Regions from separate parts of the Homo sapiens genome. Here region 1 is linked to region 2. The links are contacts of gene promoters, found by promoter capture Hi-C in human tissues and cell types (Jung and others, 2019). All regions are on one chromosome and are shown on one strand. The core of a region is centred on a gene start or on the middle of the fragment in contact, and the rest is flanking DNA. Distances in the headings are between cores, read along the strand shown.

Region 1 (5,972 bases), core at 2,785-5,284, 430 kb after region 2:
GTACCATTTAATAACAGATAATAATAAACACTGGAAGAAATTTTTTTTTTCAGACGAAGTCTTGCTCTGTCACTCAGGCTGGAGTGCAGTGGCATGATCTCAGCTCACTGCAACCTCCGCCTCCGGGGATCAAGCAATTCTCGTGCCTCAGCCTCCCGACTAACTGGGATTACAGGCATGCGCCACCTCACTCAGCTAAGTTTTTATATTTTTGTTAGAGACAGGGTTTCACCATGTTGGCCAGGCTGGTCTCAAATTCCTGGCCTCAAGTGATCCGCCCGCCTCGGCCTCCCAAAGTGCTGGGATTAACAGGCATGAGCCACCACATCCAGCTGGAATAAATTTTTAAAATGAACAACATCCCTGCCTTCAAGGGACCTAGGGAACTTACTAACTGCAGTGTTACAGGGACAGGAGTTAAACAGAGGTGAATGTTAAGGTTCTCACTCCGCCCTCCGTGTCCTTGATCCAGGTGATGACCTTGACCGAGGCAATGAGAGTATAGAGAAGTGGCCATTTCCCTAAAGAATCTCATAGTCTGGTGTATTAGTCCATTTTCATGCTGCTGATAAAGACATACCCGAGACTGGGTAATTTATAAATAAAAAGAGATTTAATGGACTCACAGTTCCATGTGGCTGGGGAGGCCTCAAAATCATGGCGGAAGGCGAAAGCCACGTCCTCCATGGCGGCCGGCGAGAGAGAATGAGAGCCAAGCAAAAGGGGAAACCCCTTATAAAACCATCAGATCTCATGGGACTTATTCACTACCACGAGAACAGTATGGGGGAAATCGCCCCCATGATTCAGTTATCTCCCACAGGGTCCCTCCCTCAACACGTGGGAGTTATGGGAGCTACAATTCAAGATGAGATTTGGGTGGGGACACAGCCAAACCATATCATCTGTCCTCACAGGGAGTTTGAGGGAAGGAAAAAGCTACTTAGTCCAACTTGGTAAGTGGTAAAAGGGAGCTGTACATAGAGTGCAGTGGACACAGCTGAGAGTGTGAGGGATTCCCTTTGGGCAGATGAGGGGATGGTGATGAGAAAGGGTGTATCCGTTGGTGCTGGATCTTTATCCATAAGGGAAATGTATGTCAGTAGACGATGGAGGAAAGGGTATTTTAAAATTCAGGGGCAGAGAAAATGAAGATCCCCAGAGTTTGGAAGTGCCTGTAAAGGAGATGTGAACGAGAATGGACATTTGGAGCTGGATTTTGGAAGGCCTTGAGAATTTGGATTCCTGCCTTCACACTGCAGAGAACCATTGAAGGCTATTAGTGGTTTTTCCTAGCTAGGCTCTTTCATTTTCCCAAGCACTGAGATGATGCTGCCTCGATGAGCACCTGTGACATCTCACTTGGTCTTATGAACTTACTCTATTTTAGTTTGAAAATCAGGTCTTTAAAAAGGAAACCAGCCGGGCATGGTGGCTCATGCCTGTAATCCCAGCACTTTGGGAGGCCGAGGCAGATGGATCACCTGAGGTCAGGAGTTTGAGACCAGCCTGGCCAACATGGTGACGCCCCGTCTCTACTAAAAATACAAAGATTAGCCATGTGTGGTGACGGGCACCTGTAATCCCAGCTACATGGGAGGCTGAGGCAGGAGAATCACTTCAACCCGGGAGGCGGAGGTTTCAGTGAGCTGAGATCGCGCCATTGCACTCCAGCCTAGGCAACAAGTGCAAAACTCCCTCTCAAAAAACAAAATTCAAAAATTAGCCAGATGTAGTGGTGCGCGCCTGTAATCCTAGCTACTCAGGAGGCTGAGGCACGAGAATCGCTTGAACCCGGGAGGTGGAGGTTGCAGTGAGCCGAGATCGCGCCACTGCATTCCAGCCTGGGCAAGACTCTCTCTCAAAAAAAAAAAAAAAAGGAAACCTTATCCAAACTGTCATAAAGTTGCTTCATATTAGTCTTAATGGATCTAAATGTTCAATCTTTTTTTTTTTTTTACTCTAAAGACAGGGTCTCACTCTGTTGCCCAGGCTGGAGTGCAGTGGCATGACACAGCTCACTGCAGCCTCTACCTCCTAGGCTCAAGCCATACTCCCGCCTTGGCCTCCCAAGTAGCTGGGACTACAGGTGCACACCACCATGCCCAGCTAATTTATTTTATTTTCTGTTTTAGAGACAGGGTCTCGCTATGTTGCCCAGGGTGGTCTCAAACTCCTGGACTCAAGCAATCCTCCCACATACAGGTGTGAGCCACTGCCTGGCCAGTGCTCAAATTTTGAAATTGTTTTATTCTACTCAGTTGAGCAAACTATATTATGAAAGTCTTATGGAAATTATTTTCAGCATTATAGCAGCAACGTTACAAAACCATGTAAAATTCTACCTAAATTTCTCAGTGGAAAAAAAAATTAAGACTAATATTTGGATGTTGGATTATTTTCTTATAGGTGAATGATAATACAGAATGAGTATTACTGTCATTGTGGTAATTTTTAAAGAGCAACAGCCTTTTTGCTAGTTCATGAAAAATACCCTGATATGTATTAAACATTTGCATCCCTTAGCTCCTAACTTCACCACTTGATGTTTTTGTAACTTTTGACTCATGGACTCCAAGTGCTTTGTTCATGCATTCTTTTCTGTGAATTAGGAGATTTAAAAATATTTCTATAATTTCTCTCCACAAATTAAATTCACTTGTTAAAGTTCACGTTCCTGACTACTCTCTTTAGACTAGACAGTTAGCAAGCTTTACTGGAATTGTGTCTTGGTTTGTGGTGTTGATAAAAGCTCGAAAGGAGTGGGTGTGTTGGGGGTTTTATAAAATTGATTCTCAGTTACTTTCCCTATACCTGCTGTGAAATGAACCTCTGATGGTGATCTGTGTTTTGAGCACACTGGGTTTGGTGGTTTGTTTTTTTTTTGTCTTTTTCCTCCTTGTTTTCTCTTTGAGGACTAACTTGGCAGACGCAGCCAGGTGTGAACAGCGCTTATGTGGCTGCCGCGGTGCTTCCTGGAAGAATCATTATAAATTCGTTCAAGATCTGATTTCTTGTTGGTTTCTGTGCTTGTGAGCATTTAGAATAAAAGTCTGTATCAGTTAATCCTTTGATTATGTAAATCATTTTATTTTGTTTTCCTCTCATTTTCAAACTGAGGTTTGAAAACCAAAAAAAAAAAAAGAATTAAATATTTTGAAACATTCTAAGTGCATAAATTCTTGGTCAGGAATGAGGAACTGTCCTTAGAAAAATGGGCTAGACATTTAAAAAGGAATCTTGTAGAGCACCTTGGCCTGTTCAGCAGTTTATGTTTGTGGTTAGTTTTTTTCTCTTCCAATAATTTGGGTGGGAATAGTAGTTGCTCATCTTTTGAGATTAATGTTCTAATTATTTGAATACAAATGTTTTCTCTCAAAATAATTGGGAAGGAAGTATGAAAACAGAAAAGGTCATCTTTTGAATTCTTAAAGTTTTATGTCAGAGATCTTCACATCTTTCTAGAGAAGGAAGGTTGTAAATCATTCAGCCTACTCCGATTCTGAAATGGGGCTTTTTAAGTGTGCGTGCATTCCTGTATGTTTTATAGAGGAGGAGTTGGATGTGTGCTCATTCATCTTACTTTTTACCTCTTTCCCATCCTCTGTAAAGATAGTGGAGTGTTTTCTGTAATCACAGTGATAATTTGTCTGCAGGATAGGAATGGTCCGAGCCTGGTTTTACCTGGATTTGGGTGAACAGCCCTGTGGTCTTGCTCACTCGGGGCTGCCCATTAGGTAGAATCCATGGGAAGTGTTAAAACTGAGGAACAAAGTGTGCCCATCTTGTTGCTCCCACTGGACCCAAGGGAGAGCTCTGGCTTGTGTTTCTACACTCGCCATATGTGTATGCCAGCAGCTTTTTAACATTAAACAAAACTGTTCAGTTGCAGACTAAAGAAGGCCACCCTCCTGACCATAAAGCTCCCCGGAAGCTGCACTTCTCCCTCAGAACTTACCTGGTCCCCTCCATGAGTGTGGGCTGGGCTGATAGGGACAGTGTGTTTCCACAGGCGAGTGACACATGGGCACAGCACACACTGGATGTCTTGCCAGGAAGTCGCTTATGCGGAAAGTGGAAATACTCAATTACAAACAGGGAAATACACCTCCTCCCTATTTACTCCATCGTGATGATGTAAGGATAAATTAATGTCCAAGCAACTTAGAGGATGGTTTAGATCACTGGTCAGCAGACGACAGCTCTGAGGCGCGGGCCAGCTAGGTGCCTGCTTATATAAATCAAGTTTTATCGAAACACGACCACACTCATATCCGTGGCTGCTTTTACACTATTACTGCAGAGTCGAGTAGTTGCATATGACCTACGGATGTGAAAATAATGTCGGGCCCTTTACAGAAAAATAGTCGCTTCTGATTTAGATAAGGGTATGAAAAGATATTTTATATATCTACATTTTATTTATTCTTAGCTATACTTACTTACTACCCAGTATGCATTTTCCTCCTTTTATTAAAAGCATGCAATAAGCATATGTTATGAGCCAGGCGTGAGACACAGAGATGATTAAGACAGGGTCTTCTCAAGGACATTGCCATTTAGTGAGGAAGACATCACATCATGCTTTGTCCTGTGGTTCAGAGTTACAACTTCAGCCTTCAGCTGAACACACAAGTTCATCCACAAATGCAAATCCCTATGAAATCAAACATAACATGAGTAATAAAAATAAGCGGGAGAGTTTAATGTGTGTGTACTTGTTTATTTTTGTGGTTAATATCTTAAGAACTCTTGAGTATTTGAGGATTTGCATGACCTTATTGAATAGCAGGGTTGAACAAAATGGCTTTAACCTAGATCTTTCTTTTGATTACATGAATATTCTTATTTGATAGGGCTATGCCTCTGTAAAAATTTTGTTTAATGTTAAAAACTTGCTGGCATACATATAAATACATATAAAAATATCTTAACTCTTTAAGGAAAGGAAACCATGTATTGGAACTTGCTTTAATAATCTCAGAGTTTTGGAGCCAAGGTAGACCTTTTGTGGATCACAGTGTATAAGCAGCTAGAAGACTAATCACGTTACCGCAGTGGTTTCTATCTTGGCCAATCACTCGAATTACTCGAATTTGGTAGGAAGCACCAAAAAAAACAGTCCCAGCATCTCAAACCCATTCCAGGACAATGAAATCAGAATCTCTGGGGTGTAGCCAGGACATCTGACATCCGTATGTTTTAAAGTCCTGCCAGGCGATTCTAATTCAGTCAGAGTTGTGAGGCACTGTTGTACAGACAGGATTCTGAAACTTTAGTGTGCATAGAATTAGCTGGAGAGCTTGTTAACCTCCCGCTTCACTCTCCCTGAGTTTTCGGATTCAGTGAGTCTGGGGTGGGCACCAGGATCTTCATTTCCAACAAGTTCCCTCGTGCTGATGCTCCTGGCATCACACTTTGAGAGCCATTGCCGTATGAGATTCTTAAGTTTTACATAAGTAGTTATTGTGATGACTTTAACTGGCAACTTACTTGGTATTTTTAAACTAATATGACTTATAAAAAGTTGATAGGTAAATGTATTACACAAAATTATTGTCACCAGTAAAAACAGTATGGATATAGGATTCATCCTTTGTCAATATAAGTATATAATCATAGACGTCCAGAGGTAGTCATCTAGAGATCCACGAACTCACCCTGCCCTTTGACAGGTAAGGACCCTTGCACTGGGTCGCAGTGCTTAGTTAGGGGCCAGCTCAAATGCTTTGATGTTCAGACCTAAGCGGCTGTGCATGTGGCTCCCCTTGTAGACTTTGGTTGAGGGTTAAACCCGGCACGTATGTCCCCTCCACACCAGCATATCCCCTTGATCATCTGTGTTCTTACCTGGGATCCTTTCCTAAGAGCAGGGGCATCGTGAGCACCGGCCCCATCTTCTCTTTGGCATCTTCGGCCCACTGTTCTTGTCTCTCATGTTCCTGGCCTGCAGTGCTTACGTTTCACAGCTT
Region 2 (6,452 bases), core at 1,794-4,293:
TATGCAATTCATAACAGTTCAATTGAAATCATTTTTGGTGACCCATAGAGGACTCTAAAAACCAGGCTTCATTTTATTAGGTATTTTTTGCCTTTCAGAAAAATGTTGTCATATGCCTAATCGATATTGAGTACTGCAATATAGTAGTATTTGTAGGACAATAAACATAAAAAATAAATAATAAAGCATGTTTTTCAACTATGAAACTATTTGCTAGTCTTGACCAACTCAATCTAATGGTAAGGTTAAGTAACAAATTATATTGTAAGCTGTCAAACAAACTGAAAAAAAAAGTCATTCTTCAAAAGAAAAATACCCACAAGGCCTATGTTCATCATTGACAACTGACAGCATCTTCCTGAGACTCATTTTCCTCCTCCTTTATTTGAAAACTAGACTTGATCTCTAAGATTCATTTGGTGATAACACTTGCTATAACGTACTCTAGCACTCTCCTCTATGCTGTTTTAGAAGTGTCCTAAATGAATGTCTATTTCCCTATGCTATAACCATTTGAAGATGGATATCGTCTGATCTTTGTATTTCCAATGCCACGTATAATACTTGTGTGTCCTTCAAATATTTCGTTTAAAAAAAAAAAAAGAGGCCGGGCCTGGTGGCTCAAGCCTTTAATCCCAGCACTTTGGGAGGCCGAGGTGTGCTGATCACCTGAGGTCAGGAGTTCGAGACCAGCCTGAATAACATGGAGAAACCCCATCTCTACTAAAAATACAAAAAATTAGCCGGACGTGGTGGCACATGCCTGTAATCCCAGCTACTTGGGAGGCTGAGGCAGGAGAATTGCTTGAACCCGGGAGGCGGAGGTTGTGGTGAGCTGAGATGACGCCATTGCACTCCAGCCTGGGCAACAAGAGCAAAACACTGCCTCAAAAAAAAAAAAAAAGAAAGAAAAAGAAAAGAAAAGAAAAAAGAAAAGTCTATGCATTCTTCTGGCACAGGTGGTCTGCATTTTGCAAATAAAAAACAAACACATGGGCCAGGAGCGGTGGTTCATGCCTGTAATCCCAGCACTTAGGGAGGCCCAGGTGGGCGGATCACGAGGTCAAGAGTTCTAGACCAGCCTGGCCAACATGGTGAAACCCCGTCTCTACTAGGAATACAAAAATTAGCTGGGCGTGGTGGCACATGCCTGTAATCCCAGCTACTCAGGAGGCTAAGGCAGGTGAACTGCTTGAACCCCGGGAGGCGGAGGTTGCAGTGAGCTGAGATCGCGCCACTGCACTCCAGCCTGGGCAACAGAGCAAGACTCTGTCTTGGAAAAAAAAAATGGTCTAAAAAACCTTACGATCTGCAAATGTTATGAATTGATCTAGAAAGTAATGTTTCTCTTTAAACTGTATGCTTCCTTGGGACTCATGCTTATTTTTACCTACGAACAACAGATTAATAACATAAGTGAAACAGTTGTGTCAGGGTGGTGCAAATATAATTTTAATATCTCAAAATACATATTTATTCTTTTTACTAACATTTATCCTTAAAATGAAGACCCTTACCCTATCCCTCCATCCTAACCACAATCCTACCTCAAAATGTCCTTCAATTTGTACTGACTTACCACTTCTCAGCACTTCCTAACAAGATCCCTTGCCTTTCATTAGTCACTTGTAATCCATTTCAATCGGAAAGAATCATAAGACAGCTGTTCAAGTGATAACACTCTCAACACCTTTAGTATCCATACCAATCCATTACAATTTCTGTCCACTAAATATAAAGAAAAAAAATACTACACATGGTATCATGGTGAAATTTGGGAACCAGTACAACCATGCAAGCCTACAATTTCACACACTGGGAAAACATTATTTCACACTTTATTACTAATTAAAGTATCTTACACGTCAATTTTTGAAAGATAAAAGGATTTTAAAATACACTAAAAGTTCACGCAAACTTACTTCCACCAAAGTTCAGATCCCTTAATGCATCTCCATCCTTAAAATCCAATCTCTCTGGAAAATCTAATGAAATAGGAACCCTCTACTTTCTAGCCTCTAAATTCATCAAACTCGTCACTCTTGATAATTTCTTTGTTTAAAAGTGCAAGGAAAGCATTCATAGTGGCAGCATCACGAGTTGGCTTACCAGGTTTCCGCCTCCCCCCATCTCCCAAGCACCTCCAATAAGCTACAATTGAAATAACCAAGAACGTGCTTAGGATGTTCGCAAAAACACAACTCTTAAGACTCCAACTCCAGTCTCCGCCTCCCAACGAGATTACTGCATAAGTACCTCCTACAGCAGAAATTCTAGTTCCCTCCTTCGAGGACCAGGAAGAATTCTGGAGCTTTGGGCCCTTCCTTTCTGGCTCTGGTAGGAACACACAACACTAGATTTGTTCCCTACTAAGGCAAGAACCCTGACCACATCTCCCTCTCCAAACAAGATCCAGCCACCCTACTCCTTACCGCTTTCCCAACACCCTCCCCGAACACAAAGCTAGGGAGCAAACCCCTCTCAGGCGCTCAGTCACTACATGGAGCCCGTCCAGTAGCCCTTTCCCACTCAGAGACAGGCCCATCTCCTTTATTCTTTCCCCAAACTCCGAGAGCCACACCCCCTTCTACACTGAAAACTTAGGGACGCGCCACCATCGCCAATACCCCGCCCCCAAACACCTGATAGACCCAGCTCCCCTGCTCTTCCCTCAAACGAGCGCTCCAGGCGCCGGCCTAAGCCAACTCCCCTGGGTCTTTACCGAGTCTCTGGTGGGGGCCGAAGCCCGGGTCATCCGGAGGTCGCGGCGCCAGCACGAAAGGAACCACGCTGGTCAGGAATAGGAGAGACTGCCTCATGTTCCCGGCCCCGCTACCGACTCCACCTCTCTGGGCAGCCTTCGCCTGACGGGGTTTCGGAAAACTGCTCACATCGGGGGAGGACGGGATCCGCCCGGCCTAGCCCCTCAATCCTCTTTTCCCTCCCGCGCCGCCTACTGGGAAGATTCTACCGCCAGGCTCGACGCCCCCAGAAGTGCAGGTGGCGTTACCAAAGGCCGGCTCAGCCAGCTTCCGGCCGCCGCTGTCCCCCGCACCACCCACAGCCGGAAGCCGGCTGCCGCGCGGCATCCCGGGAGGCTCCGCTTGCCCCGCCCCACGCCGGTGCGCCGCGGGCCTCTGGTCCGCTGCCGTGTTCGGCCCCGCCCGTCACGTCTAGCTGGGGCTCGCCCGGCGCCTTCCTGGACGCAGACGTATGAGTCCCAACTCCACCCAGTCCGGCCTGGCCTCTGTCCCCGGGTGACCGCGGAATGGGGGGGCGGGAGCTAGCGAGCAGGCCCTCAAGCGCGTCTGGCCGCCTCCTTTGTCTTGATGCCCACGTCTGGTTAGGACCCCTGCTGTCCATTTTATTAAAGGAGCTGTAGAAAGCGGCCTGGGGCCCAGCGACCTGCCCAGGGCGGACGAGGAGGCGCGACTGGCCCGATGCCGCAGGCTCTCTGCCCAGTGTGCTCAGGTGGGAGGGCGGGGACATGAATCGAGCCACAGAGTGCCCTGGGCACGGACCCCCCGCCCCCCCCGGCCCCGGGCCCCGAGCCCCGAGCCCCGAGCCCGGCCACCGAAGCCCGTGCCACTCGCCAGCTCCTGCGAGACGAGCCTTTCGAGCGCAGCTCAGGCATTTGGTTCAGGGTCCTACTGCCGGAGTCGTCTGAGGCCTCCATCCGTCTGTCGTCACGAAAAAGGTTTTGGGGGGACTAATAAGCACTTCCTGAATGCACATTTGCTCCACGCCCCTGCTGTAGGGAGAGGGTCTGCAGACACTTCAACAAATAGAATCCTAGGACCTTACCTGTGAGTACAAGAGCTGGAATCTTCCCACCAACTTCTTAAAATTCAATCCTATACTTGGTCCATTTAGCTTAGACTGGAAATTTCCCAAGGCAGTTTGTTTTGCAATCTTTTGCATGATTTTAGCTCTGTATAGTTTAGTGAATGTTTATGGTACTGAATAAAACAGTCTAAAAACGTTGGGTACATGTTGCTGTTTTATTTAGTTCAACCAAAGTTTATAAAAGTAGGACATAATACGTTTTCCACTTAAGAGTGAGACAGCCTTTATTATGAAACGGTAAATTGTTAGGAATACTAGTCCTATTCAAGTTTCAAGGCTTATTCCTAATAAAATACTCAAACTGTGGTTAAAATTTATGTTAATGGTGGTTTGCCGCAGTAAAATATCAGCGTCTTTTTCAACAATACATTGTTGGCTAAAATTAACCGGACCTGGTCTGTACATCTGAAGTATAAAATATCTTTATTAAACATACCCATTAGTGGCATACCTAGTCAAAAAGTAAGCAGAATTTCACATGCAAATTGTATACAATCTGTAAAAATTGTATTCCATAAGAATGTGACAGTTGAGTACGGTTTTTGGGGGGCTTTTTTGGTGTACCATAATAATGTCATCTGGTTTCTTTTCTGAACATCCAGTCACCATAATGTCCGGCTTGTAACTTTAGTAGATCGTAGATTGTATTATTTTGGTATCCCCAACAGCTCTTGTACAGTGCCTTGCTCATAGAAGGTACTTAGCTGTTTAGTAAATGCCGTTTAAAAAAAAAATCCCGATCCATTTTCTTTTCTTTTTTTTGGGGGGGGGTGGTGGGGGAAAGAGTTTCGCTCTTATTGCCCAGGCTGGAGTGCAATGGCGTGATCTTGGCCCACTACAACCGACTGAACACCTCCTAGGTTTAAGCGATTCTCCTGTCTCAGCCTCCCAAGTAACTGGGATTACAGGCGCCCGCCACCACGCCCAGCTAATTTTTGTATTTTTAGTAGAGATGGCATTTCACCACGTTGGCCAGGCTGGTCTCAAACTCCTGACCTTAGGTGATCCACCCGCCTCGGCCTCCCAAAGTGCCAGGATTATAAGCGTGAGCCACCGCGCCTGGCCTGAATAACCAGAAGTCCTAGATTTCCAGGGACATTCCAAATTTCAAGTAATCTTTTCAATTCACAAATCAGGACCCAAATTATTCCAATTTGCAGTTCATCTTTCATTTATCAATTGTGCATACTTTTAAGATAAAAGAGCACCACGTGGGGGAGATAAAGAGCCAAAGGAATATGGTAAGAGGGGCACTGGATAGATTAATTAGTTTATCTTTTTTTTTTTTTTTTTTTTTTTTTGAGACGGAGTCTTGCTCTGTTGCCAGGCTGGAGTGCAGTGGCATGATCTTGGCTCACTGCAGCTTCTGCCTCCCAGGTTCAAGGGATTCTCCTGCCTCAGCCTCCCAAGTAGGTGGGACTACAGTTGTGCGCCACCATGCCCAGCTAATTTTTGTATTTTCAGTAGAGACAGGGTTTCACCATGTTGGCCAGACTGGTCTGGATCTCCTGACCTCGTGATCTGCCCGCCTTGGCCTCCAAAGTGCTGGGATTACAGGCATGAGCCACCGCGCCCGGCTCTTTTATCTTTTGAGACGGTCTGGCTCTGCAGCCAAGGATGGAGTACCGTGACACAATCACAGCTCACTGCAGTCTCGACCTCCTGGGCTCAAGCAATCCTCCAGCCTCACCCTCCTCAGTAGCTGGGACCACAGGCATGCACCACCACACCTGGCTAATCTTTACATTTTTTTTATAGAAGTGGAGTCTCGCTATGTTCCTCAGGCTGATCTCAAACTCCTGGCCTCCCAGAGTGCTGGGATTACAGGTATGAGCCACTGCACTCAGCACCAAAATAATTTTTTAAAACTATATACCCCCTGGCCAGACGTGGTGGCTCACACCTGTAATCCCAGCACTTTGGGAGGCCGAGGCAGGCGGATCACGAGGTCAGGAGATCAAGACCATCCTGGCTAACACGGTGAAACCCCGTCTCTACTAAAAATACAAAAAATTAGCCAGCGCAGTGGCACGTGCCTGTAGTCCAAGCTACTTGGGAGGCTGAGGCAGGAGAATCACTTGAACCCTGGAGGTGGGGGTTGCAATGAGCCGAGATAGCGCCACTGCACTCCAGCCTGGGCGACAGAGGGAGACTCCATCTCAAAAAAAAAAACAACTATATACCCCCTAGGTGTATCTTTAAAGTTTTTCATCATTAGCGTAGTAGTAGCAAATTATGAAACTTTCAGCATAAATACTGACATTTAAAATTAAAGCTGTTAGGTCATTATTTTAAAGTTTTCCAATAGAGTATAAATACCTCAAAGATTTGACAGCCACAGTGGTAGCCCAGCCTCCAAGATGGCCCCCAATGATGCCTGCTTCCTCTTCTACACTGGGCCATAGTTGGTCTGTGACCACTAGCATGCAGCCGAAGTGATGTCACTTCTGAGGTTAGGACACAAGAAACTCTGTCCTCCATCTCAGGTGCTCTCTTGCTTGCTTGTTTCCTCTTGAATCACACACTCTGGGGGAAGCCAGCTTTCATGTCATGAGAACACTCAGGAAAACTATGGAGAGGTCCAATAGAACAGGTCAGCAGCCAAC

What was found. Contacts are between HindIII fragments. The study calls those that stand out against the background at their distance.
Region 1: a contact is called between a fragment that was not itself captured here and the fragment with the promoter of ADAM17 in region 2, in 1 of the 25 tissues and cell types used here (IMR-90 fibroblasts).

The regions. Positions count from the first base shown.
Region 1 is chr2:9,977,289-9,983,260 of GRCh38, forward strand. The region is part of intron 8 of GRHL1 (grainyhead like transcription factor 1); the gene reads left to right. Among named protein-coding and RNA genes, the nearest start is that of GRHL1, 29 kb to the left of the region's middle. The HindIII fragment of the contact is 8,161 bases long and covers 1-5,972 here.
Region 2 is chr2:9,552,787-9,559,238 of GRCh38, forward strand. It overlaps ADAM17 (ADAM metallopeptidase domain 17), which reads right to left and starts at 3,044. Exons shown (of 19, transcript NM_003183.6): 1 at 2,723-3,044. The coding sequence starts at 2,819. RefSeq lists silencers at 2,054-2,348, 2,963-3,252, 3,483-3,702, 3,674-3,968. The HindIII fragment of the contact is 13,894 bases long and covers 1-6,452 here.